7 separate regions of the Homo sapiens genome follow, and all the other regions are linked to region 3. The links are contacts of gene promoters, found by promoter capture Hi-C in blood cells and fetal thymus (Javierre and others, 2016). All regions are on one chromosome and are shown on one strand. Each heading gives the region's core, a stretch centred on a gene start or on the middle of the fragment in contact. The rest is flanking DNA. Distances are from core to core; before and after follow the strand shown.

The links. The method cuts DNA at HindIII sites, captures the fragments that hold promoters and counts their contacts. A CHiCAGO score of 5 or more calls a contact.
Region 1: a contact is called between a fragment that was not itself captured here and the fragment with the promoter of DST in region 3, in 4 of 17 cell types (total B cells, total CD4 T cells, activated CD4 T cells and 1 more). The highest score is 6.4, in total B cells.
Region 2: a fragment that was not itself captured here is called in contact with the fragment with the promoter of DST in region 3 in 1 of 17 cell types (endothelial precursors); the score reaches 5.5 in endothelial precursors.
Region 4: a contact is called between a fragment that was not itself captured here and the fragment with the promoter of DST in region 3, in 1 of 17 cell types (erythroblasts). The highest score is 5.5, in erythroblasts.
Region 5: a fragment that was not itself captured here is called in contact with the fragment with the promoter of DST in region 3 in 5 of 17 cell types (erythroblasts, megakaryocytes, naive CD4 T cells and 2 more); the score reaches 12.7 in erythroblasts.
Region 6: a fragment that was not itself captured here is called in contact with the fragment with the promoter of DST in region 3 in 1 of 17 cell types (endothelial precursors); the score reaches 5.6 in endothelial precursors.
Region 7: a fragment that was not itself captured here is called in contact with the fragment with the promoter of DST in region 3 in 10 of 17 cell types (endothelial precursors, erythroblasts, total CD4 T cells and 7 more); the score reaches 10.2 in endothelial precursors.

What each region holds. Positions count from the first base shown.
Region 1 is chr6:57,407,489-57,410,188 of GRCh38, reverse strand. The region is part of intron 7 of PRIM2 (DNA primase subunit 2); the gene reads right to left. Among named protein-coding and RNA genes, the nearest start is that of MIR548U, 19 kb to the right of the region's middle. The HindIII fragment of the contact is 4,227 bases long and covers 1-2,700 here.
Region 2 is chr6:56,616,450-56,619,149 of GRCh38, reverse strand. All of the region lies in intron 36 of DST (dystonin), which reads left to right. Among named protein-coding and RNA genes, the nearest start is that of DST-AS1, 230 kb to the left of the region's middle. The HindIII fragment of the contact is 1,500 bases long and covers 501-2,000 here.
Region 3 is chr6:56,953,520-56,956,219 of GRCh38, reverse strand. It overlaps DST (dystonin), which reads left to right and starts at 1,390. Exons shown (of 104, transcript NM_001374736.1): 1 at 1,390-1,813; 2 at 2,401-2,435. The coding sequence starts at 1,633. It overlaps BEND6 (BEN domain containing 6), which reads right to left and starts at 1,113. Exons shown (of 7, transcript NM_152731.3): 1 at 760-1,113. RefSeq lists a silencer at 925-1,614 and an enhancer at 1,776-2,407. The HindIII fragment of the contact is 5,182 bases long and covers 1-2,700 here.
Region 4 is chr6:57,293,609-57,296,308 of GRCh38, reverse strand. It overlaps a transcript of PRIM2 not described here. Among named protein-coding and RNA genes, the nearest start is that of PRIM2, 23 kb to the left of the region's middle. The HindIII fragment of the contact is 6,847 bases long and covers 1-2,700 here.
Region 5 is chr6:57,327,308-57,330,007 of GRCh38, reverse strand. All of the region lies in intron 5 of PRIM2 (DNA primase subunit 2), which reads right to left. Among named protein-coding and RNA genes, the nearest start is that of PRIM2, 11 kb to the right of the region's middle. The HindIII fragment of the contact is 7,570 bases long and covers 1-2,700 here.
Region 6 is chr6:56,632,688-56,635,387 of GRCh38, reverse strand. It overlaps DST (dystonin), which reads left to right. Exons shown (of 104, transcript NM_001374736.1): 25 at 435-587; 26 at 772-926; 27 at 1,130-1,256; 28 at 2,351-2,534. Among named protein-coding and RNA genes, the nearest start is that of DST-AS1, 210 kb to the left of the region's middle. The HindIII fragment of the contact is 3,833 bases long and covers 1-2,700 here.
Region 7 is chr6:57,265,588-57,268,287 of GRCh38, reverse strand. It overlaps a transcript of PRIM2 not described here. Among named protein-coding and RNA genes, the nearest start is that of LINC03001, 3.6 kb to the right of the region's middle. The HindIII fragment of the contact is 432 bases long and covers 1,089-1,520 here.

The DNA.
Region 1 (2,700 bases), core at 153-2,652, 450 kb before region 3:
CCACAGCCGGTTAATTTTTTGTATTTTTTAGTATTTTAGACAGGGTTTCACCATGTTGACCAGGCTGGTCTCAAACTCCTGACCTCATGTGATCCACCCACCTGGGGCTCCCAAAGTGCTGGGATTACAGGCGTGAGCCACTGGCCCGGCCCAGTCTTTTCTACTAATAGTGCCAAAACCAACAAGGAAACCAACAAGGAAAAAAAAATCAACATGTCTAAAACCTAACCAAAACATGGGTCATAGAGTTAAATACAAGAGCTAAAACTATAAAATTTCAAAAAGATAATACAGGAAAAATTCTTCATGCTCTTGGGTCAGTTGAATACTTCTTAATAAAAGTAAACCATAAAAGAAAGAAACTGATAAAATAGACTGAATCAAATTGTAAAACTTTGTTGCTCTTCAAAAGACATTGTTAAAACAAAAGGCAAACCACAGACTGGGACAAAATATTTGCAACACACACACATATTCAAGATATGGAAATTAAAAGCACAATGAGATATCATCATACATCCATTAGAATGATTAAAATTTAAAACTGACAATATCAACTTTTGGCAAGGTGGTAGAATAACTGGAACACATACACTACTGGAGATGAACATATCTATCCACTTTGGAAATAGTTTGGCAATTTCTCATAAAGTTAAACATACTTTAAACATATTTATTGGTCAGCCCAGCAATCCTCCTTAAAAGTATTTATCCAGGCCAGGAGCAGTGGCTCACACCTGTAATCCCAGCACTTTGGGAGGCCAAGGAGGGCGATCACGAGGTCAGGAGATTGAGACCATCCTGGCTAACACGGTGAAACCCTGCCTCTACTAAAAATACAAAAAAATTAGCCGGTGCGGTGGTGGGCACCTGTAGTCCCAGCTACTTGGGAGGCCGAGGCAGAAGAATGGCGTGAACCCGAGAGGCAGAGCTTGCAGTGAGCCAAGATCGTGCTAGTGTACTCCAGCCTGGGCGACAGAGCGAGACTCCATCTCGAAAAAAAAAAAAAGTATTTATCCAAATATTCACAGCAGTTTTATTCATAATAGCCAAGAACTGGAAACAATCTAAATGTCCATCAAGTGGACATTTGAATTGGGGACTAGATAAACAAATTGTGGTATATTCATACAATGGAATACTACCTAACAATTAAAAAGAATGGAAAAAATGTTTTAAATTAAAAAAATAAAAGAATAGAAGAATGAATTACCAATACATGAAACAACATAGATGAGGCTGAGATGGGAGGAGTTTGAGACCAGTCTGGGAAACACAGCGAGACCCTGTCTCTACAAAAAATTTTACAAATTAGCCAGGTGTACTGGTATGCACCTATAATCCTAGCTACTTGGGAGGTTGAGGCAGGAAGGTCCCATGAGCCAGGAGATCAAGGTTGCAATGAGCTATGATTTCACCACAGCATTCCAGTTTGGGTGACAGAGTAAGACCCTACCTCTAAAAACAACAACAACATAGATGAATGTCGAAAGCACAATGCAGATCAACAAAAGCCAAATGCAGAAGAATACATAGTGTATGATTCAATTTACACGGAATTCTAAAACAAACAAAATTATCATGACAGAAACAGATGAGTGTTTGCCCAGGGCCAGGGGTGGAGGGAGGAAATTAAATGCTAAAGGCTATTTATTGTACAAAAGCACAATAAAATCTTCTGATTTGTCAATTTACTCCCCCAACAAATCTACTTTCTCATGGCATTTATTATGCATTTATTATGTGGGTGGCTATGTGAATGACATGCCTGGTCAAACCAATCACCTGAGCCATATGCAAATCAGACACCGTCTCCTCCAGCCTCTTCATATACCTGGCAGGTTTCCACCACACTGGGGGTCTCTTCTCTCAGCTTTGGAGCCCCCTCTCCCTCTGGCTCTGTAAAGGGGCGCTTCTTGCTTCTTTCTTCTCCCTTCTGTCTTGCCTATTAAACTCTCCGCTCCTTAAAACCACTCCACATGCACCCATGTCATCTTATCTAATTGGGCATGAGACAAGAGCCCTGGTGTTCTTCCACTCATCGAAGCCATATCACAATGATTGGCACATTTATGCTCACCAACACGTATCCAAAGTGGGGAAAAAAAAGGAATATTTGTGCCTGCTTCCCACAAAGGGGGAGAGTAACATCATTAAAGATCACGAGCATAAAAATTACAGATACAGGTACATTGGCTTAGAATTCTGTGACCTTGGATAAGTTACCCAACCTTCCCAAGTTTCCCTCTCTGCAAAATTCATGCAAATAACCATCTCATAACGTTGCCAACAGGGTTAAATTGAGAACACATATAATACATCTAATTGTGTCTGGTACACAGTATGTGCTTATTAAAAAATTAGAAACCTGCCTTCACCACCACTACCACCACCATCATCATCCAGCAAGCCAATTCTTTAACTAATCAGTTCAGAGGCTCTTGACCTCAAAAGAATGATTTAATGCCACATGAAATTGAAGGAGAAAATACACAGTTTCAAATTCTCTTTTTCTCCCTGCTCTTCACCCCATGTGGGTGTGCCACTGTGTACCGCCTCAGGCCTAACCCGCAATATGCAAATGATACGTATTTGAAGGATAAATAAATTCCTTAGGCAAAGTGCTAAAAAATAACAGTGGAGGCTGCTCAGCCTATAAAGTAGCCATTCTTTATTCCTTTACTTTCCTAATAAACTTGC
Region 2 (2,700 bases), core at 1-2,500, 340 kb after region 3:
AATGAACACTTGCATAAACAGACAAAAACAGAGCAGGATTTTCAAAGAAAAATTAAATGCCTAGAAGAAGACCTGGCGAAAAGTCAAAATTTGGTAAGTGAATTTAAGCAAAAGTGTGACCAACAGAACATTATCATCCAGAATACCAAGAAAGAAGTTAGAAATCTGAATGCGGAACTGAATGCTTCCAAAGAAGAGAAGCGACGCGGGGAGCAGAAAGTTCAGCTACAACAAGCTCAGGTGCAAGAGTTAAATAACAGGTTGAAAAAAGTACAAGACGAATTACACTTAAAGACCATAGAGGAGCAGATGACCCACAGAAAGATGGTTCTGTTTCAGGAAGAATCTGGTAAATTCAAACAATCAGCAGAGGAGTTTCGGAAGAAGATGGAAAAATTAATGGAGTCCAAAGTCATCACTGAAAATGATATTTCAGGCATTAGGCTTGACTTTGTGTCTCTTCAACAAGAAAACTCTAGAGCCCAAGAAAATGCTAAGCTTTGTGAAACAAACATTAAAGAACTTGAAAGACAGCTTCAACAGTATCGTGAACAAATGCAGCAAGGGCAGCACATGGAAGCAAATCATTACCAAAAATGTCAGAAACTTGAGGATGAGCTGATAGCCCAGAAGCGTGAGGTTGAAAACCTGAAGCAAAAAATGGACCAACAGATCAAAGAGCATGAACATCAATTAGTTTTGCTCCAGTGTGAAATTCAAAAAAAGAGCACAGCCAAAGACTGTACCTTCAAACCAGATTTTGAGATGACAGTGAAGGAGTGCCAGCACTCTGGAGAGCTGTCCTCTAGAAACACTGGACACCTTCACCCAACACCCAGATCCCCTCTGTTGAGATGGACTCAAGAACCACAGCCATTGGAAGAGAAGTGGCAGCATCGGGTTGTTGAACAGATACCCAAAGAAGTCCAATTCCAGCCACCAGGGGCTCCACTCGAGAAAGAGAAAAGCCAGCAGTGTTACTCTGAGTACTTTTCTCAGACAAGCACCGAGTTACAGATAACTTTTGATGAGACAAACCCCATTACAAGACTGTCTGAAATTGAGAAGATAAGAGACCAAGCCCTGAACAATTCTAGACCACCTGTTAGGTATCAAGATAACGCATGTGAAATGGAACTGGTGAAGGTTTTGACACCCTTAGAGGTATACTCTGTGTTCTGAGACCTTATCAGCTACCTAATGTCAAGTTTCCTCATTTGTTTCCTTTCTCTCCTAGACTAAATTTTTAAAACAATTTTGAATGTGATTGGCTCATTGTAGTTCTGACAGGAAAATAATGCTATACTCTTTCTGGTAACTTACTTGAATCTTTATCATAAATTAACTTTAATTTTTGAATGTTTGAGATTAAACATACAGATGTAATAGATATACTGTTATATCTGTGGAGATACATTCTGAAAAATGTGAGTATCAAAAAAGCTAGAAGAACCAAGCAGTTAGCTTTAACTTCTAACATATTCTGTGGCTAGACTTTGTCTTAGTCTTTTTTAAAGATATAATTTTAATACCTTTAATTGTCATCTAAGATAAAATTCAGACTCTGAAAATAATATAATACTTATTCCTGAACCCTCCTTGGTTTGAAATTTTTCTTCTTTTCACTAATCTTGTCTTTGTAATTCAAAGAATTATGTTTGGATTGAGAATGGATAAAGTGACATAATGTTCTTGAGGTGACTTTTAACATTTTATAAATTCCTGTTACAGATAGCTAAGAACAAGCAGTATGATATGCATACAGAAGTCACAACATTAAAACAAGAAAAGAACCCAGTTCCCAGTGCTGAAGAATGGATGCTTGAAGGGTGCAGAGCATCTGGTGGACTCAAGAAAGGGGATTTCCTTAAGAAGGGCTTAGAACCAGAGACCTTCCAGAACTTTGATGGTGATCATGCATGTTCAGTCAGGGATGATGAATTTAAATTCCAAGGGCTTAGGCACACTGTGACTGCCAGGCAGTTGGTGGAAGCTAAGCTTCTGGACATGAGAACAATTGAGCAGCTGCGACTCGGTCTTAAGACTGTTGAAGAAGTTCAGAAAACTCTTAACAAGTTTCTGACGAAAGCCACCTCAATTGCAGGGCTTTACCTAGAATCTACAAAAGAAAAGATTTCATTTGCCTCAGCGGCCGAGAGAATCATAATAGACAAAATGGTGGCTTTGGCATTTTTAGAAGCTCAGGCTGCAACAGGTTTTATAATTGATCCCATTTCAGGTCAGACATATTCTGTTGAAGATGCAGTTCTTAAAGGAGTTGTTGACCCCGAATTCAGAATTAGGCTTCTTGAGGCAGAGAAGGCAGCTGTGGGATATTCTTATTCTTCTAAGACATTGTCAGTGTTTCAAGCTATGGAAAATAGAATGCTTGACAGACAAAAAGGTAAACATATCTTGGAAGCCCAGATTGCCAGTGGGGGTGTCATTGACCCTGTGAGAGGCATTCGTGTTCCTCCAGAAATTGCTCTGCAGCAGGGGTTGTTGAATAATGCCATCTTACAGTTTTTACATGAGCCATCCAGCAACACAAGAGTTTTCCCTAATCCCAATAACAAGCAAGCTCTGTATTACTCAGAATTACTGCGAATGTGTGTATTTGATGTAGAGTCCCAATGCTTTCTGTTTCCATTTGGGGAGAGGAACATTTCCAATCTCAATGTCAAGAAAACACATAGAATT
Region 3 (2,700 bases), core at 141-2,640:
TATAAGAAACTCCGCAAATGCAGTCAAGTGTTACCTTGTCACTATAATTAAAGTTTTCTTATGCGAGTAAATGAAACAAACAATCCAGCCCCACACAGGGAAAGCCAGCATTGCCTTGGGGGCAGCAGAACGCGGCACAGCACCGCCCGCCAAGGCCGCAAGATGCCGCAGAATGACTGCTGCAGCAGCCGCTTCCTGGCCAGGTGGCCGTGGCCGTCCGCAGAAAGGCACACTGCAGCGCTCTCGCTATACCTTCCGTGCTGGCATTGCATCAGTGTTAAATCCCCTGGCCACCAACTGCCATATACTTTTTGCTGGTTATGAAGAAACGTGGGGAGGGGACAAAGGGGAGACAGAGTGTGCCTGCAAGTGTGAGAGATCACTATTGCCTCACACTCCCTAAAAAATTTCTCCCCCAAATGTTTATAAGCCAAGTACCAACTTACTTCATCTGCCAGGTCCCTAAATCTGAAATCGCCTTGCCCTTCAAATGCACTAAATGAGTCAGGGTTTTAGGGCAAACCCAGGGATACAAGAAGATCGAAAGTGCCCAATTCTTAGCTGCGAGATAAGCACCAAGTTTGGGGTGGAAGAGTTCACCTCTGCCGACCAGAGCGTACTACCCCGGAGCGCTCCTAGTTTAGAGAGGCTTGGAGAGGAGTGGGCCTCCCGTTCCTGGAGTATCCCAATTCCCAGGGAAGGCCCTTCCCGGCGCTCGCGCTTCAGAGTGCGAGGAAACCCCCACAAGCAATAGCTCACCCGGCTGCATTCTTCAAAGCCCCAACCTCGGGGCGGGGCGCAGGGAGGTGGGAGGTGGAGGGTAGCACCGCCGGGAGGCTCCTGTCAGCGCCTCTCGGTTTTCCCCCTGGCTCCTTGGCGCCCCCTGACGACGGGCTCCGCAGCAATTTGGCCGAGGGAGGCTGGATAGGCGGAAGCTCCGGGTGTCCGGGAAGCTAGAGGCACCCGGCCAATGCACCCGCGGACGGCGCGGACTGGCGGGCGGCCCCGCGGGAGGGCGCTGGGCTCTCAGGCCCGGGTGCAGCCCGCGGACGCCGCCGAAACCGCCGCAGCCATGTCCGCGCGCCCGCGCTGCCGCAGCCTGGCCGTGATGTCATCAGCCGAGCCCCCGCCGCGGCGCCCCATTCCCGCCCCCCGCAGGCTGCCGCGGCTGCAGCCTGAGCGCCGCGTCCCCGCCCCGACCCACGTGCGCCCGGCTTCTGGGATGCTGAGGTCGGCGGCGGCCGCAGGACGATGCGCGGGGCCCGGGCGGCCGCGGCGGCGGCGCTGCTCCTCCCCACTCGCCGCGTCCCCGGCGGGGCTGCGCCCGGGGGCTGCGCACGGACGGGGGCGGGGGCGCCTGGGGAGGGAGGGGAGAGGATCCCAGCCGCCGAGTCGCAGCCTCGTCGCTGTCTGCTGAGTCATGGCAAGCGCTCCCCGCAGCCCTGGATCACTCGCGTAGCGCGGCTGGCGCGGGGTGCGCAGCCATTGGGCTGGGCGCGGGGCCGCGAGCGCCAGGCATGACGCGCTGAGCCGCGCTCACCCGTGCCCGCCGTCCCGGCGTGCGCCCAGCGCGGGTGCCTGTGCCGCCGCCCTCCAGCCCCGCCGTCGAGTCGCCCTCGCCTCGCCCGCACCATGATCGCCGCGGCTTTCCTCGTCTTGCTGAGACCCTACAGCATCCAATGTGCCCTCTTCCTCTTGTTGCTTCTGCTGGGCACCATCGCCACCATCGTCTTCTTCTGCTGCTGGCACCGCAAGCTCCAGAAAGGGAGGCATCCGATGAAATCGGTCTTCTCGGGTCGTTCAAGAAGCCGAGGTAAGACACGCCGCGACGGGTTTCTGCGGGCTACCAGGAACAATTAAGCCGATTTGGAGAGTGAAGCGCGGCTCGCTCCCTTCTCCTCGGCTGCCCCTAGCCCCATCATTGCCCACTCCCCAGGCTGAGTGCGTTTCTTTAACGCCCCTTGCCCTTTTTGCCGTCACCTCCGCCCTCCAGTCTCCCAGGTTTGAATAACCACGGCGATGCCGAGGGCAGGGAGGGGAGGAAAGAACTCAAATTTTTAGTCAGTTTGCTAAAGCCTTAAGGGTAATTTGAGCGTAGTCCGGGGCTGCGCCAGCCTCGCCTTCACGCATCCTTCGCTGGAGCGTAGGGGTAAGAAAGTAAGGCATGGAAACTTCGGGGCTCCCCAACTCCCCCAGAACTTTCATGCAAACTTCTCGCGGAGAAATCACGTAGAGACCGATGGCCCCAGGACTCCTCCTCCCTCCCCCAGGATGTCCCACCGAATTCCAGGAGTCTGCGATGTGCTTTCCCAACCCTGGTCTCCCAGGTAAGTCATGAGTCACTCGGTAGGTGAAGAACAAGGAGTTAAATGAAGTCTCATTTATCTCTTTTCTCCCCAGATGCTGTTTTGAGATCGCACCACTTTCGTTCTGAGGTAATTTATTTAGCGCGCACGCTCAAGGTCAGAAGAAGTTCTCTTTCCTGAGTACCAATATTAATTATATGCGTGTTAAGAAACCAGTAGGACACTGAATGACGAACATGCTGTCCCCTAGCCGAAAGTGGCATGTTTCCTTTTAAGTGATTTCATATTAGTGCCCAGCGAACGGTTTTAGCAAATTTCTTGTGTAGTGGAGCTGTTGTACAAGAGGGGAAAAGGCAAACCCTAAAAGTGCTGCAGACCTTAAAAAACTTAGCCA
Region 4 (2,700 bases), core at 1-2,500, 340 kb before region 3:
TTTCATACCCCTGTGAAAAATAAACTTACTAGCTAAAGTACAATATTTGTATATAATTCTTTGTATACAGTTTTAGTCATGTGCATTTCTATTTGTGCACAGCTTTTTGTCTTTTAGCCATACAGCATGTAGTGAAAATATTATTTTCCAGAGTTATTGAGATTTGTTCTTTTTCTTCTCCACACCCTTCAGTGCGGTTGTTATTCATTCGTAATATGGTTAGGTTCATTTGTTATAGTTAGTATTCCATTTCAGGTCCCCTCTCCCCACCCATCCTGTTGGTTTTATTTATTGAATGTATGAAACATTGATATGGTTATAAATGTCACAAAATGGTTGTGACTATGGTTATAAAAGTCACAAAAATGCCATTCCCCCCTCATCCCTTCTATCCTATTCCCATCCCTCCATTCTTTTCATCCAGACTTAGAGGTTATTTTAATCCGGGTGTTGGGAAGGATGGTTTTTGCTCTTAGATATATGTTGTAGAACTGAGGAAGAAATGGAAGATTTGTAGGAAGAAGATGACACATTCAATTTTGTAAATGAGTTAAGGTGCCTGTGTAGCTGTTCATGTGGAGATAAGCATCAGGCAATTGGTAGTTAAGATTTGGCACTCAGGAGGGATTTAAAACAAGGAGTAAAACAGGCCCTCCTTTAGTACCTGGGAAATTTGTATTTTCTATCACCTCCATACATTTTATTTCTATTTCTCTAAAATCAGTCTGTTTTTAAGAACAAAGCTAAAAATTATGGTTCTAATTCATTAAACCACAACATGCTGTCAAGCAAATATACAAGCTGCCTTTTTTCATGCCAAATATTTCCTTTGACAGGAGAGAGATTTAGGACTCTTTCCATAGAATCAATGTAGATTGATTCACTCCAAAATAAACCAGTGGTTTGCTACTAGTTAAACCTCTAAGTACTGGAGCAGATATTCCCAATCAAATTTTTTTTTTTATAAAATTCAATTCATGCTGTTAAGAGATAATTTTTTGTCAGTATGTAGAAGTATTTAATATGTAGAAGTCATTATTGGCATCAAAATTGTTGGCAGCATTTTGTCACGTCAGCTGGGGTGGAGAAAAACAACTCTTGAATGGATGACTTTTTGGGTGAAGTTTTTTAAAACAAAGAGGTTTCTTCTTCTGATTCTAGAAGTAACATATCCTTATTATGAAAAATAAAGTTGGTATCAAAAATGTTACAAAGTACAGCTGGGCGTGGTGGCTAACGCCTGTAATTCCAGCATTTTGGGATGCTGAAGTCAGAAGTTGGAGACAAGCCTGGCCAACATGATGAAACCCCTTCTCTGCTAAAAATACAAAAATTAGTTAGGCATGGCAGCACGCCTGTAGTCCCAGCTACTGGGGAGGCTGAGGCAGGAGAACTGCTTGAAATCCGGGAGGTGGAGGTTGCAATGAGCTGAGATCGTGCCACTGCACTCCAGACTGGGTGACAGAGTGAGACTGTGTCTCAAAAAAAAAAAAAGTCATAAAATGAGTAAAAAATGGCAATATTATATCACTTAAAAATAACTACCATGAACACTTTTGTATTTTTCTCCATGTACTTTTTTCAATCAATATACATAAATGCTTAAAGTATATTTATATGTGTATGTATACATTTATATATGTGCTTAAATAAATATACATACACATATGTTATATATGTATATATTTATACATATACTTATTTAAATACATATATACACATACTTATACATAAATTTATGTATAAATATATACATGCACTTGTAATCATACTATATATACTGCTTTTGTTCTGTTTTGGTTTGGTTTTGGGTTTTCTTATTTTTTTGCAGACGGAGTCTCGCTCTGTTGCCCAGGCTGGAGTGCAGTAGCACGATCTCGGCTCACTGCAACCTCCACCTCCTGGGTTCAAGCGATTCTCCTGCCTTAACCTTCTGAGTAGCTGGGATTACAGGTGTGTACCATCACACCCGGCTAATTTTTTGTATTTTTAGTAGAGATGGGGTTTCACCATGTTGGCCAGGCTGGTCTCAAACTCCTGGCCTCATGTGATCCACCCACCTACGCCTCCCAAAGTGCTGAGAATACAGGCATGAGCCACCACGCCTGGCCTATATAAAGTGTTTGGAATCTACTTTTGTTCATTTCATGACATATTGTGGACCTCCTGCAATATCAATAAATACAGCACTACATCATCATTTTTTATAGTTCCATAGTATTCCATTGCATGACTATACCATAATATATTTAACTAATTTCTAATTATAAGACATTAAACTATGTCTAGATTTTCATTATCACAAACTACATTGCAAGGAATACCTTTTTTCTTTTTTTTAAATTATACTTTTAAGTTGTAGGGTGCATGTGCACAACATGCAGGTTTGTTAAATAGGTATACATGTGCCATGTTGGTTTGCTGCACCCATCAGCTTGTCATTTACATATCCCTCCCCCAGACCCCCACCCCCCAACAGGCCCCAGTGTGTGACATTCCCCACCCTGTGTCCATTTGTTCTCATTGTCCAATTCCCACCTATGACTGGGAACATGCAGTGTTAGGTTTTCTGTCCTTTTGATAGTTTGCTGAGAATGATGGTTTCCAGCTTCACCCATGTCGCTGCAAAGGACATGAACTCATCCCTTTTTATGGCTGCATAGTATTCCATGGTGTATATGTGCCACATTTTCTTAATCC
Region 5 (2,700 bases), core at 136-2,635, 370 kb before region 3:
ATTAAAAAATGCAAGGAACCCAGAGCAGCCAAAACAATCTTAAAAAAGAACAAAGCTGGAGAACTCATACTTCTCAATTTTAAATCTTAACAATAAAGCCACAGTAACCAATAATCAAGACCACATACTACTGACATAAGGATAAGCAGACAGATCAATGGAATAAAATTAAGAGTACTGAAATAAATGTTTACATTTACAGTTGTATTAGTCTGTTCTCACGCTGCTGTAAAGAACTGCCTGAGACTGGGTAATTTATAAAGGAAAGAGGTTTAATCCTGAGCCCTCTGCGTGTCTGGGGAGGCCTCAGGAAACTTACAATCATGGCAGATGGCACCTCTTCACAGGGCGGCAGGGGAGGGAATGAGAACCAAGCAAAGGGGGAGGCCCCTTATAAAACCATCAGATCTAGTGAGAACTTATTATCATGAGACTACCATGGGGGAGATTGCCCCCATGATTCAGTTACCTCCCACCAAGTCCTTTCCATGACACGTGGGGATTATGGGAACTACAATTCAAGATGAGATTTGGGTGGGGACACAATCAAACCATATCAACAGTCAACTGACTTGACAAGTGTGCCAAGACAATTCAATGAGGAAAGAATGGTTATTTCAACAAATGATGCTGGGACAACTAGATATCTACATGCAAAAGAATGAAGTTGGACCCTTACTTCACACCGTGTATAGAAATTAACACAAAATGAACCACAGATATAAACGTAAGAGCTAAAACTACAAAACTCTTACAGAAAAAACTGTAGGAGTAAATCTTTATGACCTCACATTAGACAAAGACTTCTTAGACTCAATACCAAAAGCACAAGTGACAAGAAAAAAAGATAAATTAGACTTCATCTGAAAAAAAAAAACCTTTTTGTTGCAAACAATACCATCAAGAAAAGACAACCTTCAGAGTGGGGGAAAATATTTGTAAATCATATATCTGATAATGGACTTGTATCCAGAATATGTAAAGAACACTCAACAATAAAAAGCCAAACAATTCAACTACAAAACAGGCAAAGGATTTGAACAGACATCTCTTCACAGATGATATACAAATGACCAATAAGCATATGAAAAGATATTCAGCTTCATTAGAAATGCAAATCAAAACCACAATTACATACCACTTCATACTCACTATGATGGCTATATTTTTTTAAAAGGTAACAATTTTTGGTGAGGATATGGAGAAAGTGGAACCCTCATCCACTGCTGGTAAGATATATAATGATACAGCCACTTTGGAAAACATTTTGATAGCTCCTCAAAAGTTTAAACACAGAATCACCCTATGACCTAGCAATTCTACTCCTAGGTATACACCTGAGAGAAAGGAAAACATATTCACACAAAAACCTGGACACAAATATTCACTGTAGCGTTATTCATAATAGCCAAAATATGGAAACCATCCAAATGTCCCTCGAATGCTGAACAGGTAAAATATTATTTGGCAATTAAAAAATTAATACTGATACATTCTACAGCACAGATGAAACTTGAAAATATTATGCTAAGTAAAAGAAGTCAACCACAAGGGACCACATATTGTATGACTCCATTTATATGAAATGTTCAGAATAGACAAATCCAGAGACAGAAAGCAGGTTAGTGGTTGCCAAGGGTTGGGAGAGGAAGAATAGGGAATGACCATAAATGGGTAAGAGGTTTCATTTTTAGGTGAAAATGTTCTAAAATTACATAGTAGTGTTGATTGCACAATCTGTAATTACACTAAAAACCAATGAATTATACATTGTAAAAGGGTGCATGTCAAGATTTGTGAATTCTAGCTCAATAAATCTATTATTTAAAAAAGTATATGTGACGCTGAGACACTCTACAACTGGGGTCTCCAACTCTCAGGCCACAATACCAGCACCAGCACATGGCCCATTAGGAACCAGGCTGCACAGGAGGTGAGCAGTGAGCGAGCATTACCACCTGAACTCCACTTCCTGTCAGATTAGTGGAGGCATTAGATTCTTATAGGAGTGCGAACCCTATTATGAACTGCACATGTGAGAGATCTAAGATGTGCACTCCTTATGATAATCTAATGACTGATGATCTGAGGTGGATCTGTTCATCCCAAAACCATCCACACCCCTCCCCATCCCCCGACCTCAGTCCGTGGAAAAATTGTCTTCCATGAAACCAGTCCCTGGTGCCAAAAAGGTTGGAGATGGCTGCCCTAGAATAAATAATAGACCTTCTCAAGGACACCTCTCTCTATGACCTACTAAAAATCAGTAATTTCAACAAAAGCAAAAAATAAACTATTTCTAATAGGAATGGATAAATTAACTGTAATTGATAATTGCAATAATGGACTTCACCAAGGATCAAAGTTAAAAGCAAAGTGGAAGATGCAGTGGGTTTGGTTCAGATGGTACCATGCATGACATCTGTCTATGCAAAGGTAGATGTGACTTAGAAACCTCATGAAGTAAATGAAAGAAACTATAGAAACTGCCTACCTAGCATATATTTGACACTAAACGTCTACAAAATGTTTGTTCACTTCCCTTCACAGTCTCTTTTCCCTAACTCATATACTCCATAGTGTTCCTTGCTACAGTGGATATGTCTTCTACTTGTCAGACAGGACAATGTCTTTCACCTATTGCAACTTCTACTTTTTTATTTTATTTGGCTTTAAGCCACGCATTCCAACAACAAAATA
Region 6 (2,700 bases), core at 133-2,632, 320 kb after region 3:
AGATGGTTTTTAGTGTCGTGTGTGTGTGTGTGCACGTGTGTGTTTAGTTATTCATTTTGCAAATACTTTTTAAGTTCTTAATATATCCTGGGCACTGTTTTAGGTTCTAGAGCTACAGCAGTGAACAAAGCAGACAAGAATCTCTACCTTTGTGGTGCTTACATGCTAGAGAGGGAGTTAGACAATAAACAGAATAAATAAGTAAAATTTGTATAGTATGTTAGGTAGTGTAAATGCCAAAGAGGAAAAAGAAAACCAAACAAACCAAAGAAAGGAAGAGGGATACAAGATGGGGTGGAGGAGGAAAGATTGAAAATTTAGACTAGGTAGTCAGAGAGAAGACTTTTCTGATGAAGTTTAATTTGTGTAAAGTGCTGAAGGCATGGAGAGTACAAGTCTTTTACTTCTTAAAATTCACTGTATTTATTACTTAGGAAGAGAAAGAAGAACTTCTGCAGTACAAAAGCACTATAGCAAACCTAATGGGAAAAGCAAAAACAATAATTCAACTGAAGCCAAGGAATTCTGACTGTCCACTCAAAACTTCTATTCCGATCAAAGCTATCTGTGACTACAGACAAATTGAGGTACTTGTAACTCCTAGAAACAGACCAGTTTCTGTCATTATTCATATATTTTGTAAATGAGATCATATTGCTAACTAGTGATCAAGATTTCCCGCCTCATAAAACAAAAAAAATCCCAGGATTGAGTATGGAAAACAGTTAACAGTGACCTCATTGAGTTATTCTGCTCTTTATTTTAAACCAGATAACCATTTACAAAGACGATGAATGTGTTTTGGCGAATAACTCTCATCGTGCTAAATGGAAGGTCATTAGTCCTACTGGGAATGAGGCTATGGTCCCATCTGTGTGCTTCACCGTTCCTCCACCAAACAAAGAAGCGGTGGACCTTGCCAACAGGTTTGTATATATTAGCTAAAAATGTTGAGCTAGTTTTGGGGGCCCTCTGAAGGTTGAAGGAACAATCAATACTTTGTCAAGGCCCCACAGGATCAAAAGTCTCTAGAACTCATCCGTGGAATATTTCACACAAAAAGAAAAATTGCAGTGTGTTTTCAGAGGGAGTAAAAACATTAATCTGAGTTCTCTTTCATGTATTTCAGAATTGAGCAACAGTATCAGAATGTCCTGACTCTTTGGCATGAGTCTCACATAAACATGAAGAGTGTAGTATCCTGGCATTATCTCATCAATGAAATTGATAGAATTCGAGCTAGCAATGTGGCTTCAGTAAGTATGAATCTGTATGTCAACTCGATATGTCCAAAAATGTGCATGCCTTTTCATATGTGTCGTAGAGTTTGTATTTGCTTTAGAATAGGATGGAGTCCGGCAAATCCATGCTAATATTCATTTATTCAATGAATATTTGTTATATGCCCATAGCATATAAGGCACTTTTTAAGAACTGAGGAAATCTGGAGATCACAAATTTCATTCAGAACTTACTGTGAGATAGGGAGGCAGAATGTAGTTGTTGGATATACGATGATGGGTACAGTTGATTTCATTTGAGTTTCGTAGACTTGTTTTTCTTTGTCGTTAAAACCTAAAATTGTTGGCTGGGCGCGGTGGCTCACGCCTGTAATCCCAGGACTTTGGGAGGCCGAGGCAGGTGGATCACCTAAGAGGTCTGGAGTTCGAGACCAGCCTGACCAACGTGGAGAAACCCTGTCTCTACTAAAAATACAAAACTAGCCAGGTGTGGTGGTGCATGCCTGTAATCTTAGCTACTCGGGAGGCTGAGGCAGGAGAATTGCTTGGACCTGGGGGGCAGAGGTTGCAGTGAGCTGAGATCGCGCTCCAGCCTGGGCAATAAGAGTGAAACTCCGTCTCGGCCGGGCGCGGTGGCTCACACCTGTAATCCCAGCACTTTGGGAGGCCGAGGCGGGCGGATCACGAGGTCAGGAGATCGAGACCATCCCGGCTAAAACGGTGAAACCCCGTCTCTACTAAAAATACAAAAAATTAGCCGGGCGTAGTGGCAGGCGCCTGTAGTCCCAGCTACTTGGGAGGCTGAGGCAGGAGAATGGCGTGAACCCGGGAGGCGGAGCTTGCAGTGAGCCGAGATCCCGCCACTGCACTCCAGCCTGGGCGACAGAGCGAGACTCCGTCTCAAAAAAAAAAAGAGTGAAACTCCGTCTCAAAACAAAAAACAAAAAAAAACCACCTAAAATTGTTAATGAAAAAGACAGTTAATTTCAAATGTTCCTATTTATGATTATTCGTTTAGATTGGCATATACCACACGACCAGTTTGAAGTGTCTCCCATTCAAATCTATGAGTAATAGAATGAATTACATGGGTCTTTGGTCTTCTTTAGATAAAGACAATGCTACCTGGTGAACATCAGCAAGTTCTAAGTAATCTACAATCTCGTTTTGAAGATTTTCTGGAAGATAGCCAGGAATCCCAAGTCTTTTCAGGCTCAGATATAACACAACTGGAAAAGGAGGTTAATGTATGTAAGCAGTATTATCAAGAACTTCTTAAATCTGCAGAAAGAGGTAAAGCATGGGGATCCCTGTCTTTTTTTCCCCATAGGTGTTTAGTTCTGGCTATTTTTTGCTCTCAATGGGAATCTCAATCTTAGGTATATTGTATCACCCAGCCTATGATATGTAGACACAATTGGTGGAACGGTAAAAGCATGTTTGAGGTAGGAAGACTCAA
Region 7 (2,700 bases), core at 55-2,554, 310 kb before region 3:
AGTAAAGTAATTGGAGCACCACCTGGTGGGCATTCTGGCTACATTCCTGACTTGAAGGGAACAAAATGTGGTTTTTTGAGACCAAGGAGGAATATGACTAGGAAGACATGTCTCCTCCCTTCCGCTGGAGACTGAAGTAACAACTACGTAACTCATAGAACCTTCCAACCACCTAATACTTTAGGAATGTGCTTGGAGCTCTTCTAAATCCATCTCACTTGAACTGCAAAGCCAGAAACAACAGCCATTATTCCTCTGAAGCCTGCAAAATGCTGAGTAGATTAAAAGGATTATGTTTCTGTTCTCATATGCTCAATGCCCATAGCTCAACAACCTTACTTTTACAAGAACCCAGCAACAATGATTTCATTTTGAATGAATCCACGATCTTCTCTGCAACATAGTTAAATGTAACCAGGCCAGGACGGTGGCTCACCCTTGTAATCCCAGCACTTTGGGAGGCCAAGGCGGGAGGGTCATTTGAGGCCAGGTTTTCGAGACCAGCATGTGCCACCATGCCTAGCTAATTTTAAAATTTTTTTGTAGAGATGGGGTGTCGCAATGTTGCCCAGGCTGGTCTTTAACTCCTGGCCTCAAGTGATCCTCCCGCCTCCGCCTCCCAAAGTGCTGGAATTACAAGTGTGAGCCACCGTGCATGTCAACCATTCTTATTTATTCTGCTTTTTATTTTCCTGGCTTCTCTTCAGCACTCTCAACCATTCTTTATAGCAATGCTCCCCAAATTTTTTCATGTGGTATTGCTCGTAGAAAGTGATAATATTAGTACAGTGCTGGACTAAATGGATGAGGTTGCTCAAAGGTTTTATGCAGCCTCTCAAAGAGATGCCACTGGGATTGAGCTCACTTGCCCAAGACAGTAACCCGCTTCTCAATGTATCCTTTAATGGTGTTCCTCTTTTGCCAGTCTTACTTGCCCACTCCCTGATCATGCCTCCTGGGATCACCTCCCAAGTAAACTACTTTCACCCAAATTCTTGTCCCATCACAGTAGATAATGAATACCAAAAAAATGGCAAAATGACAATAAAACTAATATCCAAGCAAAGTGGACCTTTGTGCATCAAGCTTTGCTCTAAAACATGTATCAACCTATTAGGTAAAGCAATGCATTGATTAATTAATGAAGGTAATTACTTAAATTCTGTGCTTCACTTTGCATGTGGAGGCACTGCATGCATTTTAAGAACATTTTTAGACTTATATCAAGACATTTGTCTTTCATACCTAAAGAACTAAGCTACAAAAGGTTTAATGACTTCCCACGTCACATCTTTAACAGTAAAAGTCAAAATAGTTAAAATTCATTGAGCATTCACTATATGCTGGATTCTGTGTGAAGTACTTTTCATCATTCCACTAATCATTTATTTTTAACTTTTTTTAACTATTTTTAATCATTTATTATTTTGGACGTTAAGATACCCACTCCACAAATGAGGAAACTGAGCTAAAAGAGATCGGTTCCAAATTGGCACTGATCAAAAATTAAAGAGAAAGCTTTGAACTAGCAAGTAGAGAGAAGCTGTGGCGACATAGACTATTTTTACACTACAAAATGTTATTCTAATAAAGTCTACATATACACTCAAAGTGAAGTAGAAGATCAGGACAGGTAATCAGATAATTCAAATGCGGCAAATTACTCTTTTTCACAGCAATTCATGAAAAACATATTTGGCTGAATTATCCACATGGTTAAATGAAATCTGCGCTATATGTTATATGTTTAACTAACCTTGAACTTGGTCTTAAACAAATCGTCACTTTGGTCAGCCCTATAAGCAACTGTGGTTGCAAAAAAATTGTCGAGCTGATTATTTGATTAGGTAAAATTGAAAACTCTGATATTTTTAGAGTTGACATTAACATTTCAGTAAAATGAATTCTTCATTCTTGACTCTGTAGGCCGTCTGGGTTTGTTTCCTAGAGACAGAGATGATATTTGCACCAAAAATCTAAATACAGAGAAACAATCTTGAGCAAATGGCCAAGTTTTCACATTGAGATGCTTAAACACATGAAGCTGCCCACATGAAACTGCTGTCATCTTCCATAAAGACTTGGTTTCTTTGTTTTATTTATGTTGACTCACATTGCAGCTACTTTATATTTAGAGTAAAATGGAAATTCTTCTGTATTCTACACAAAGCCAAGCAAATTGCAGTTTTCCTTTCGTTTCTGGGTGTCTTATTTGTTCAAGCTCTTTATAAATAGCCCTGAGCTTGGAAATTAGTTAAGTTTTGCTGTTTTTTCATTCTCCTTTTCTTATAGTTTAAAAATCAAACTGTCTGATTTTATTCTACTTTCATAAGACTGGGCAAGAAGCCCATTTCCTGTTAATGATGAGGTGACCATATTTTGACAGTACATTAAAGAATAGTTGGATGACATACTGGCAGGGGAAAGTCAATTGAGGAAAAAGTGTACTCAGATTTGGAAAATGAGTCAGTGTCTAGGAACCAACTGCATTTAACACACAAAATTTGCTCCAAATGAGCAAATTGAAAATCCTTTAAGAGAAGCTGCATAATAAATATGTCTAGAGTTGTCAGGCACAGAATTCTTTATAAAAAAATTCTGTTTAATTGCAGTGACATCAATTTCTGGGCTATCTATAGGATAAATTGATAGATTACTTAAACTAAAACACACAAATCAAATCACTAAATGCATTCACAA